2 separate regions of the Homo sapiens genome follow, and region 2 is linked to region 1. The links are contacts of gene promoters, found by promoter capture Hi-C in human tissues and cell types (Jung and others, 2019). All regions are on one chromosome and are shown on one strand. Each heading gives the region's core, a stretch centred on a gene start or on the middle of the fragment in contact. The rest is flanking DNA. Distances are from core to core; before and after follow the strand shown.

What was found. Contacts are between HindIII fragments. The study calls those that stand out against the background at their distance.
Region 2: a fragment that was not itself captured here is called in contact with the fragment with the promoter of ERI3 in region 1 in 1 of the 25 tissues and cell types used here (thymus).

What each region holds. Positions count from the first base shown.
Region 1 is chr1:44,351,574-44,356,769 of GRCh38, forward strand. It overlaps ERI3 (ERI1 exoribonuclease family member 3), which reads right to left and starts at 3,684. Exons shown (of 9, transcript NM_024066.3): 1 at 3,319-3,684; 2 at 1,277-1,352. The coding sequence starts at 3,453. RefSeq lists a silencer at 3,419-3,648 and enhancers at 3,518-4,018, 3,919-3,968. The HindIII fragment of the contact is 16,235 bases long and covers 1-5,196 here.
Region 2 is chr1:44,511,035-44,516,322 of GRCh38, forward strand. The region is part of intron 2 of RNF220 (ring finger protein 220); the gene reads left to right. Among named protein-coding and RNA genes, the nearest start is that of MIR5584, 32 kb to the right of the region's middle. The HindIII fragment of the contact is 7,769 bases long and covers 1-5,288 here.

The sequences.
Region 1 (5,196 bases), core at 2,434-4,933:
CAGAGACCCAAAGCCTAAATATTTACTATCTTATCCATTACAGAAAAAATTTGCAGAGCACTAATCTAATCTTTTTTCTACTCCCTGGTCTAATCCTAAGAGTTTATAAGGCTAAGGCTCTGGCCTCTGCTTAGCTCCTGCTTCATCTCTCCCCATATCCTCCTGTCCCCTGACCACTAAGTACTCTGTTTCAGCCACATTGAACTTTCTCAAATTCAACAAAGCTCTGACACTTGGTCCCTCATGTCTTCACCTAATTTTTTTTTTTTAATTTCCCGTGTTCTTTGAGGGTTCGTTTAATTCTATGTGAGGAGGTTTACTTCCTCTGAGAGGCCTTCCCTGAGTCTACAAGTCTGGGTTAGAGACCTTTCTGAGTATTCCCAAAGCCTCTACACTTCCCTTACTATAGCACTCTCAGATCATATCATAACTGCCTTTTTACTATCAGTCTCTCCCATGAATTTGTAAGCTCTATGGTGTCAGGGAAGGTGGCTTTCTTGTTCACCACTACAATCCCAGGAACTAGCACAGTGCCTGGCCCTTAGCTATTGAACAAACAAGCTCGAGTCCCTGGATATCAATCATCCAGAGTATGCCTCTTTAGCTGGTCCCTGATCCTTGTAAAACAGACAGGTTGGAACTAACCACCCACCAAAAGGTGACATGCAACCTAAATTAAACCAAGATCCCAAAGGCCTTGGTCAAATACATTAGCAAAAGCCAAACGAGAGCCAGGTGTAGTGGCACATGCCTGTAGCTCCAGCTACTTGTGGGCAGGAGATCACTTGAACCCAGGAGTTCGAGCCCAGCATGGGCAACCTAGCAAGGTCTCATAGATAGATAGATAGATAGATAGATAGATAGATAGATAGATAGATAGATAGATAGATAAATGTTTAAAGCCAAATGAAGATGTTTCTTCCTATTTTCTTAAGATGTGTATTTCTCAGGATAATGGGCTATTCTGGTTCTATTCAACCATCCTGAACCTAAAGTAGGTGCTCATGAGATGCCCATAAAGCAGTTGTGACAGAACTTGACAGTCTGGATCTCCCACCTCCAACTCTTACCACTTTAGAAACTTTAAGTAAGTTTCTACAGACTTTGAGCATATGTTACTTTATCAGAAGAAGCTACAAAAAAATATGATTCGTTTAGACTTTGGGGATACATGGGAAAAAAAATACAATCTGCATCAGCCCCCACCCCCTACCCTCCAAGCCCAAATACTCAGAAGAAAATAAAGCCAGACTTGACCATGCAACAGGATTCTCACCTCTCCTTACTTCGAAGATGCCAAGACCGGCAGCTGGGGATGCTGAAGGTTCTGTGAGAGCTGGAAAGCCCCAATGCTGTGGATAAATACACATCTCTGCAACAAGTCTATTTCAATACCAAGGATCAAATCCCCATGAAGGATACTACACCTCAAACTCTAAACTCAAACTTCGGGATAACTGCTATCTATGTGCAAAGACAGTGCCCCCACAGAGCTTTCAGAAACTATTAGTACTACATTTGTAATGATTTTCATGTTCTCTAGTCATATACTTTTGCTCCTAAGGAGGCTCACCTCCTAGAAACACTAAACATTTACCGAGAAAGATAGCTATGAAGTGGTGCCTCTGGGTAGTTTCAGAATCCTAGTCTAGTCAAGGAGGAAGACACTGGTAAGGCTGACAATATTCAGAACTAAGGAACTAAGGCTGGGCCAGGACTGGGGTAGGGGTTGGTTGCCACAAATCCACAAGCCATACTGAAAATGGCCACATAGACTAGGAAACACTTTCAGGATAGTTCCAAGCCTGCTTCAAGCTCTAAGAAAGTCAAGGTAACTAAATCCCAAGTCAAAACATCAATAGATACCTATCATCCTTTTCAACTAATTCATATCCTCCAAAGGACCAGAAGTTGCAGAGATGCCCCTGTTAGTGATGTCTTTTGCATAAAGAAACACCTAGGGTTGGAACTAATATATTCCTGTCTACCATTCCACACATTTAAGACTTTCTTCTACTCAGATCCCCTGGGAAAAGGCCACTCACCAATTTACCCCACCACAAAGAAAACACTTTTTAAAATGAAAGGGAATAAAAGCACTTTTATTTGGAAATTTCAAGTTGGAAGAAAAGCTCTTAGCCAAGCTCTATGACCTAGCTAGCTGATTATTTACAGGATCTTTGGGCAGGAATTGTTAATGAGCTTTTAATTTGGAGTGCTTAAGTTGCCAAAGTGCTCTGAGCTCCAGTGAAGCACCACAGAATCTATAAAGGAAACCTTATCAATCACTTCCCGGCAGCTCCCTTCCCCCAACCCCCACCTCCTGAGGAAAAGGCAGCCAAGTGGGTTTCTAACCAGGATCACAGACACACATTAGTGGAGTCACACTCCAAGTCCCTGTTTATAAATTGGCTTTTAAATGGTAGGAGATTCAGGTATAATAAACTAAGCTCCAAGCAAGAACCCACTAAAACAAGGCATGCTGTATATGATAAAGTCAGAATAAAGCAGAATTTGATGAAGCCAATTTCTGGAAGAAACTCTACAATCAAAACTCATTTAGCCACTCACAACCTACTATAGTTTGAATAGCGTACACTCTTTTAGCCAATAGGATTCATGTTTTGCTGCCCTTCCGCTGGGAGACTGATTAAATGTCTGACAAGAGTAAATGCCATTGAAGTGGCCAGAGACCTCTCGCAGACACAACGATGGGCACTATTTGTTGCAAAATCCAGCTCTAAGGACAAAATCCAAACCCCCATTGAGGGGCCCCACATCCAGCATCTTCCAAGTCAACAAGGAGCAGTTATATTTTGCAAGAACTCGCAGTCAAGCCTCAATCCAAGTTCATGCTTTTTTTAAGAAAACACCTGTTGCTGGACCATTTGCAAGACAGGCAAACAGAAAGCTAGCCAGGTTAGGCCCTTATTCACTCCTTCCACCATCACTACTACCACCGCTTCAGATTTACAAAGAGGTAAACTGCTAACCTGGTGTGTGGGCATGTGTTGGCGAGAGGGTCAAGGGAATGTTCTACCCACAATCTCCATGCTCCATTTCTAGCCTCTCTAGTCAAACCTTTTTCTTCTCTAGTAATCCCAGTAAGTCAACCCCCTTAATAAACTCACCCATCCTGTCTTGCAAAGCTCTGCCCCGCTCCCCCTCCGCCAGAACATTACTCAGTAGATTAAGTAAGCATCCAGGGTAAGCACATGGGCCAGCACCCCAGGTTGCATAAATTCTGCGCACCGCGACCCTCACCCCGCATGCATTAACCAGGGCCCAATCTTGGCGGGGCCATTCAGCATCACCCACCCCGGGGTGTTGCCCCCAACTCGGGCCCATCCAAGTCCAGGGGAGAGTAAGGGGAGGGGCGGGGGGCCAGGAGACCAGCCCTCCTTCCCAGGGCCGCCCCCGCCCCCCGTCAGCAGCGGGAGAGGCTGTCGCCATGGCAACGCCCCCTCCTCGGGGCCAGCGCGGCAGGCTCCCTCCAGGTGCAGGCCCCGACGTCTCCCTCGGCCTCAGCAAGCGCTCAGGGCAGTTGGCGGCGGCGGGCGCGGCCCGCGCCGACTGCGGCGCCGGCCAGGCAGAGGCAGGGCCAGCTCCGCCCGCTCCCCACCGCCCGTTCCCGGCCGCCTGAACAGCGGCAGCCAGCACCACGAGTCCACAACACACCGACTCACCTCCGCGCACTCTGACCCCGACCGACGCGGCGGACGGGCGGGCGCTGTGGCCAACCGCTGAGCCCGCTGCCGACCCCTTTGACCAATGGGCTGCAGTCAGGCGGGGCTTCTTCTCCCCAAACGCTCGCTCTCCCGCCGACATGCGCGCTAAGGTATGTCAAGATGGTGACTCCCGGCCGCCGGCCTTATGGGACTTGTAGTTTTGACGTTGCACAAACTCAGAAGAGAAGACGGGGACGGGGACATCACTTCTGATCTGTGAAAGGAATTTTTTTAAAATGAAACTTTCTATGGCCTACAGCGATCTAACCAGGATCACAGACACACATTAGTGGAGCCCCCCATCTCCGTTTTCCCGCCCTCCAATATACCCGTAAGGTGAATGTGGGCTCACAACGTGACAGAATTCTATTTACATGACTCCTCATGATTCGTTCATTCAACAAGTAATTATTGTCATCTACTTTCGGATGTGGGCCTGGGGGAGACCTGAGACAAGGAGGGATTAAGCTAAGAGGAAAATGCTTAGATTTGTGAAGGGCCGTCCTAAGGAAGAGGGAACTGGCTTGTTCAGGTCCACTCAGAGGAAACTTCTGTTTAAAAGGTTTCTGGCCTCAGCTGTGAGGAGCTTCCCCAGTCAGTCTCTCCAGTAAGCTGGAGAGACCTGTGTTTCTTCATCCTGGTTATGCCTTTCTGGGTAGTCATGGGTCCCAGGTTATGAGCTGGGAATGATGGCTTTGACAGCTTCCCAATCGGTCAGGACCCCATCCTCTGGGCCCAGCTTCAGTTACCAAGCCCCTCTGTGTGCTGTCTGCATACTTACACTTAGGATGATGTCATTTCTGGGCCCTACCACCTCTGAGAGCGGACCTTACCATAACGGTTTCCACCTGAGCTGAGAGTGCCTGGTAATCCCCATATCAGGGAATGCCTTCCTTAATCCCACCCACGTCATAGGTTAGGTGATTCTGCTGTGGACCTATAGCATTTATCATATTGTCTTATAATTGTCTGTTTCCTTGTTGTCGCTCCCACAGGGTTTTAAGTCCTTTAGGAAAAGCATTTTTTCCATATTGTTCATGTTGTATCAGTAATACACCGCATAGGGCAGGTATAAAGAAGGCCCGCAATAAATGTCTGCGAACAAATGAGGGAATATCCAGCAGCAGGGACAGACTTATCCCGAGGTCAGTAAAGTGGAGGCACTATCCCCCAACTCTTGGAGCTGGAACAGATTCTCCTATTATTACCTACACATTAACCCCAGTTGGTCAGTCAGTCCATCTGTATTTATAGTGCCTCTCTTAAGTGTCAGGCACTGTTTCTGTTGCTGAGGATTCATTGATGAATAACGACACACCTCTATTCTCAAGGAGCTTTTAAATTGGAGAGGGAAGCTGGGTGTCGTGGCTCACGTCTGTAATTCTAACACTTTGGGAGTCTGAGGCAGGAGGATCCTTTGAGACCAGGAGTTCAAGACCAGCTTGGGCAACATAATGAGATTCTCATC
Region 2 (5,288 bases), core at 1,662-4,161, 160 kb after region 1:
GTTTGAGGACCTTTTGGTGAGGCAAGGAAGCATGCAGCCCACTTCAGCTTTCTCCTTATTTTTCAAAGGTGCCAGTCCATTTTTGGAGCCCTGAGGAAGAGAAGGCTAGAGGGAGAACACTAAAGACTACAGCCAATTCTGATAAAGAATAAGGGAAAAGAAAAGGCTTTGCCTGCTGGAATAGCTTTGGGTGAGGTCACCATAGTTTTCTACAAGATAAAGGGATTGGCTACAGGAGCCACCAGAAGAGAGATCCCCGGGCCTGCGGGCAAGAAGTTGAACCCTAGAGAGAAACTTTCACTAGCGAAGGGTTAAAGGGAATAAATATGTTTAGCAATATATTGAGGGTGAGGGGAAAGGAAAGGTGGGGGACAGACCAGTGAGCATGTAGACTGCTAATAAATGAAGAGAAGTGGGAGATTCATCTTACCTCCTACAGGGCAGAGATGCTCAGCTCATTTTTTAGATCAGTCTTTAAGAAGAAAAATGACAAAAAGGAATTTGGATAATTAGGAAGTAAATGCAGACTGTGCAAAAATCGTTCCTGATAGAAAGCAGGTAGGAGAATACTCAGAAAATGTAAAGGTTTCACAAATCAGCAAGCCAGGATGACATCCATCATGAGATATTAAGGCTAGTGTTCTGGGAACATACTAAGCGGGGCGCTGATTGAACCACTTATAATTATGTCTGGAAAATCATAGAAAGTAAAAGGGGCCATCAGGAGGCTGGAGAAGTGAAACGGATGTGACTCCTGTCTTCTAAAAAATGGTAAACAAGCCTAAAAATGTTCATCCAGTCAGTTTGGAACTAGATACAATGAAAGGGGGAAAAAATCTGTCATCTCCGGGAGGAAAGTAAAATTGAGAAGCGTGTGTGTGCGTGTGTGTGTGTGTGTGTGTGTGTGTGTGTGTAAGTATGCCTAAGGGCCAAACCACACCAAACAGAATAGCGCTAAGTGATCAAATTGAAAACAGAAAAACAGATGTGTTGTAATGGGTGTGCCACAAGTGGCTGTTGTTAAAACAGGTTCAGGTTTTCGCTGTGGTTGTAGGTATGTAAATGAAAACTGCACAGAAAAGAAAAATCGATGGCAGGGAATCATTCAGAGAGAGGGACACTCTCTGGATGAACAGAGTATTCTGAACCAATTTAACATAAGGTCTCATTTTGGATGGGGAGAAAGCTGCATGTAACTGAAAAAGCTGATAGGTAGGTGTGGCTGAGGAACAATTCAGGAACCTGAAGAAGTCAACAACCACATGAACACCTAATTATGGGGGGAGGCGGTGGGTTGAAACAAATGAACATATTTGGGAGGAAATCTCTGCTCATCCAAAAAAGCCATAGGAAGGCCCTGGAAGCTGCCTTGCTTTGGGGGTTGCATGCACACAATTTGGATGTGGAGCTCTGGGACCTAGAAGGGAGGTGACACACTGGGGTGGTTTCAAAAAGAATGGGGACGGCCCCTAAGGGGGTTAGCTGAGAGGGAGTGGCTCCTCATGGTAATGATCCTAACTGACTCCACAGCCCCAGCGCCCTACACACTTTTACAAGGTTAAAGCAACAGCTTGAACCTGTATGGGGTGAGCATTTGTTTCCTTTCCAGATTGCCAGCTAATGAGGAAAGATTAAAGGAGCTAAATCTGTTTAGCTTGGCTAAGTGACGACGGAGGCGGCAGGAGTGGAGAGGCATGCTGGGCAGCCTGGCCAAGCGGAGGGGTGTGATAACCGTCTGCAGATTTCAGGAAGGTGTAACTACGGTGGAAGAAGAGCGGCTGTCTCAGGTGGCACAGGGGCCTCACCCTTCGGCAGCGAGTTTCCCAACAGTGAGCTCGGTGGCTCCTGGAGCAGCCAGTTGACCTGAGGAAGAGAGAGCAAGGATTAGGAACATCCCGGCTGAGCCAAGGGAGGGACCAAGCCAACCCACCCAATGGTCCAGGCACTGTCCCAACAGACCAGCTTTCATTTTGCCTTTTGCTAGCAGCATCCTCAGCATTCCCAAGGGTCTTCTCTGACTCTCTGCCCCCACTGCAGCCAATCCCTTAAGGGATTTGGAGTCCAGAAAGGTTCCCCCACTTTCTGGCCTGTGATAGACATTCGCAGTAGCTGGTTTGGCAATTCAGAACCTGCCTGTTCTTTGATGATATCTTCAGATAGATTATTCCAAGGCTATGAGATCAGAACCTGTGCGAGGAGCTCTTCTGGGAATGGAAATAACTTACCCAAAAGGGGAAGCAAGTGGCAAGGCCCAGGGTGTGGCGTCCCTGGGGTCCCGAGCCTGGCCCATGGGGGCCAGCCAGGCTGCCTCCCGCATGCTTGCTGTTGGCAATCTCATGGTTAAACACTTAAACAATCTTTCTTTCTCCTCTTTTCTCTCTCCTCCTCTCTCTCTTTCACTCTCTTCTTTTCAGAGTTGACAGGGGCCAAATAAAGGCCCTTTTAAAAAAAAACACACAAAACAATTTTGTTCCTTCTGAAAGTGATGGAGCGAAAGTGAGTGCAGATTATAGGCCTGTGAGGCGAGGGCCTTCCAGACGGGGGGAGAAGCGGTGACATGATGGGAACCTAATGGCAGTAATTGGCCCTGGCTTTGACAGGGCCCATATCACAGCTCAGGAAAAGAGAGATGTTTAAAGTAAAAATTTACACAAAATTATATGTTTTCGGGGTGAAAAAGACTGTTTGGATTTCATTTTTTTTCTTCCTCTTCTTCCCCCCAGGGCATGTTTCATGGGTCATCCTCTGCATGTGTGCGCGTGTGTCTGTGTGCGTGTGTGCACACATGCCCGTGCAGCTGTCTCCCCAGGTATATGGGCATCTTATGCCACATCGCCAATGTCTTCTACTTCCGCTCTTCCTGGAATAGAGGCGTTTGTTAGCTTTGGAAGTTTCCCTTCAGGAAGCAGAAAGAGCCTAAGAGAAGAAGGGAGAAAAGAACCATTCGAGTAATAGATCAGGCCACCCTTCATAGTATCACCACAGCAGACCTTGTTTGGATTCAATATATAGTCGTGTAGCATCTTGTATTTATCCTTGTATCGCTTAGTCCTAAATATAACCAAGTAATAGATCAAGTAGCTATATTTGTTTAGTGTCTAACTCCCACTCCAAACTGTGAGCTCTTTGAGTGCAGGACCCTGTTTCTCTTGTTAAGTGCCATAATCTCAGCACCTAGCACAGTGCCTCCCACGTAGCAGGCTTGCAGGATTTGTTAAATGAGCGGCCTAAAATAATGGAATTATGGAGGGACAGCTGCGATGTTGGAAGCCCGTGCCTTCCTGAGTAGAAAATGCTGATCAATCAGACTTTCGTCTAACTAGACAATACTAGAATATTCAGATAATTGATTCTTCATTGCCTGTTGGAAATGTAGCCTGAGAGGAAGACTTCAGGGGTTGCAGTGAAGCTAGAATATTAGGCATTCGTCCCTGGTTCAGAATGGTTTAGGCTTCCTCCATTGTGAGCTTCACTAGAAGCTCTACAGTCAAACCCCAACTGACTCTTTAATGCTGATGACCATGCTAGTGTTGAAACGATCTCCTCTTCCGGCCTGCAGAATGTCCTGCTGCTCCCTGTTTTACTTGGGATTTAGGTGTTCTCTATGGACTAAGCTAAGAACTAGCCAGCTATTGGGCTACTTTTTAGATTTTTTTAAAAAAGATATATCTTTTGGCTAACATGATAACAAGACCCATAAATGAAACAAAATTGAATGTTTTATTCACATGAGCTCAAGGGAAGTACCCGAGTCACAGAACCACAGATTGGGGAGTGGCTTTAGAGGTTCTGAAGTTCATGCTTTACTAGTTGTGTGCATAACCTCTACAGTAACCTCTCATGCTCCAGATGCAAAGATTGGCACGTCCAGCAGGGCAGGTAGAGTTTAAAGTCAAGAAGCAAAGGGGTAGGAGCTGGGCTGAACAAGGACCAGTCCTTGAAAATGGGTCAGTCATGGGGGAACAAACACAGAAAGGGAAGACCTAGCAAGACTGTTCCAGGGAGTGGCTATGAAGGCTGGAAATAAGTTCTGAAAGGCAAGTCCAGGAGGCTGGTGTTGAATGGAAATGTATAGCTATCAGCAGCAGGGACCAAGCCAACAGTCTATTCCCTTCCCATTTTGCCTCAATGTTTGAAGAAAATCTCAGCCCAGACAAACCAGGAGGTTTCAAGACCACTAGGGGAATCCAGAACACGGGGTGGATGTCACTGGGGACGGGAGAAGGGTAGCAGGGTATAGAATCAAATGGAAATGGGGCTCTTAGAGCTGTGGCAGTTGCTGAGATTAACTGAGGTCAACACAATTGAGTAGATGGTTCTTGAATAATGTAGGTGTAGTTTGTGTGGTGATTATTGTGTTAGGTACAGTAATAGCAGATAAAGTTGTAAATGATCCACAGGATTGGCATGCTCTAGGAATGAAGAAGTCATTGCTTGTGGTGAGAATACAGGTTCTTAAAGAAAAACTGAGGCATTTGGGGTTTCAGAACCATTTATTTGTCCCAACATTTATAGGATGCCTGCTCTATTCCAGGTATCATGCTGAGTCAAAGCTCTTCAGACCTACTATTTAATTTGAGTCACTTCCCTTTTATTTTCCCTTTGTGTGATGAACTGAGGGTGCCAGTATAGGGGAAAATGGCTAACATTCCATCCATGAAAATCACACAGTATGAGAAGGCTCTCTTGGCAATCTCAGAGTTCTCCGAGCTCTGTAGATGCTCCAAGAGTCTAGGAAACAGCAGCAGCTTACAGAAGTTTCCTCCTTTGACATTTAGCACAGAGATGGCAACCTTGTCCTTATCTGCTACCTCTGTGTAGGAATATTAAAATTGTAAATTACATACACTTTCCTAAAATACAGTCCTTTCACCCGGACCTGAAATAAATGACTTGGCTTCAGGTGCCTCTGGGTATCACTTGGCTTGCCCGTCAGTGCGGATCTGAAGATGAGACGCTAAAACCTTCAGATCTGCCTCCCTTGAATGTGATCTTAGCTGCTACACCATCTCCTTCTAAAAGGATAGCAAAGGAGATATGGGTGTTGTTTGCTTTTTCACTCATCTAAACTTTTTGCTTAAAATTATGGAATCTCAGAGCCTTGGAGATGATGCAACATATTTTTAAATAAACTGCCTCGTCTAAGTTAAGTGCTGGAAATACAAAGGTTTAAAAACAGTTCTCCTTTAAAGGAATTCATAGTCTACCAAGGAGACAGGCCAGCCAAAGAGGTAATGTCAAAACACTATGGTAAGTGCTAAGATAGATGTAAGATGCAGCACCTCCTA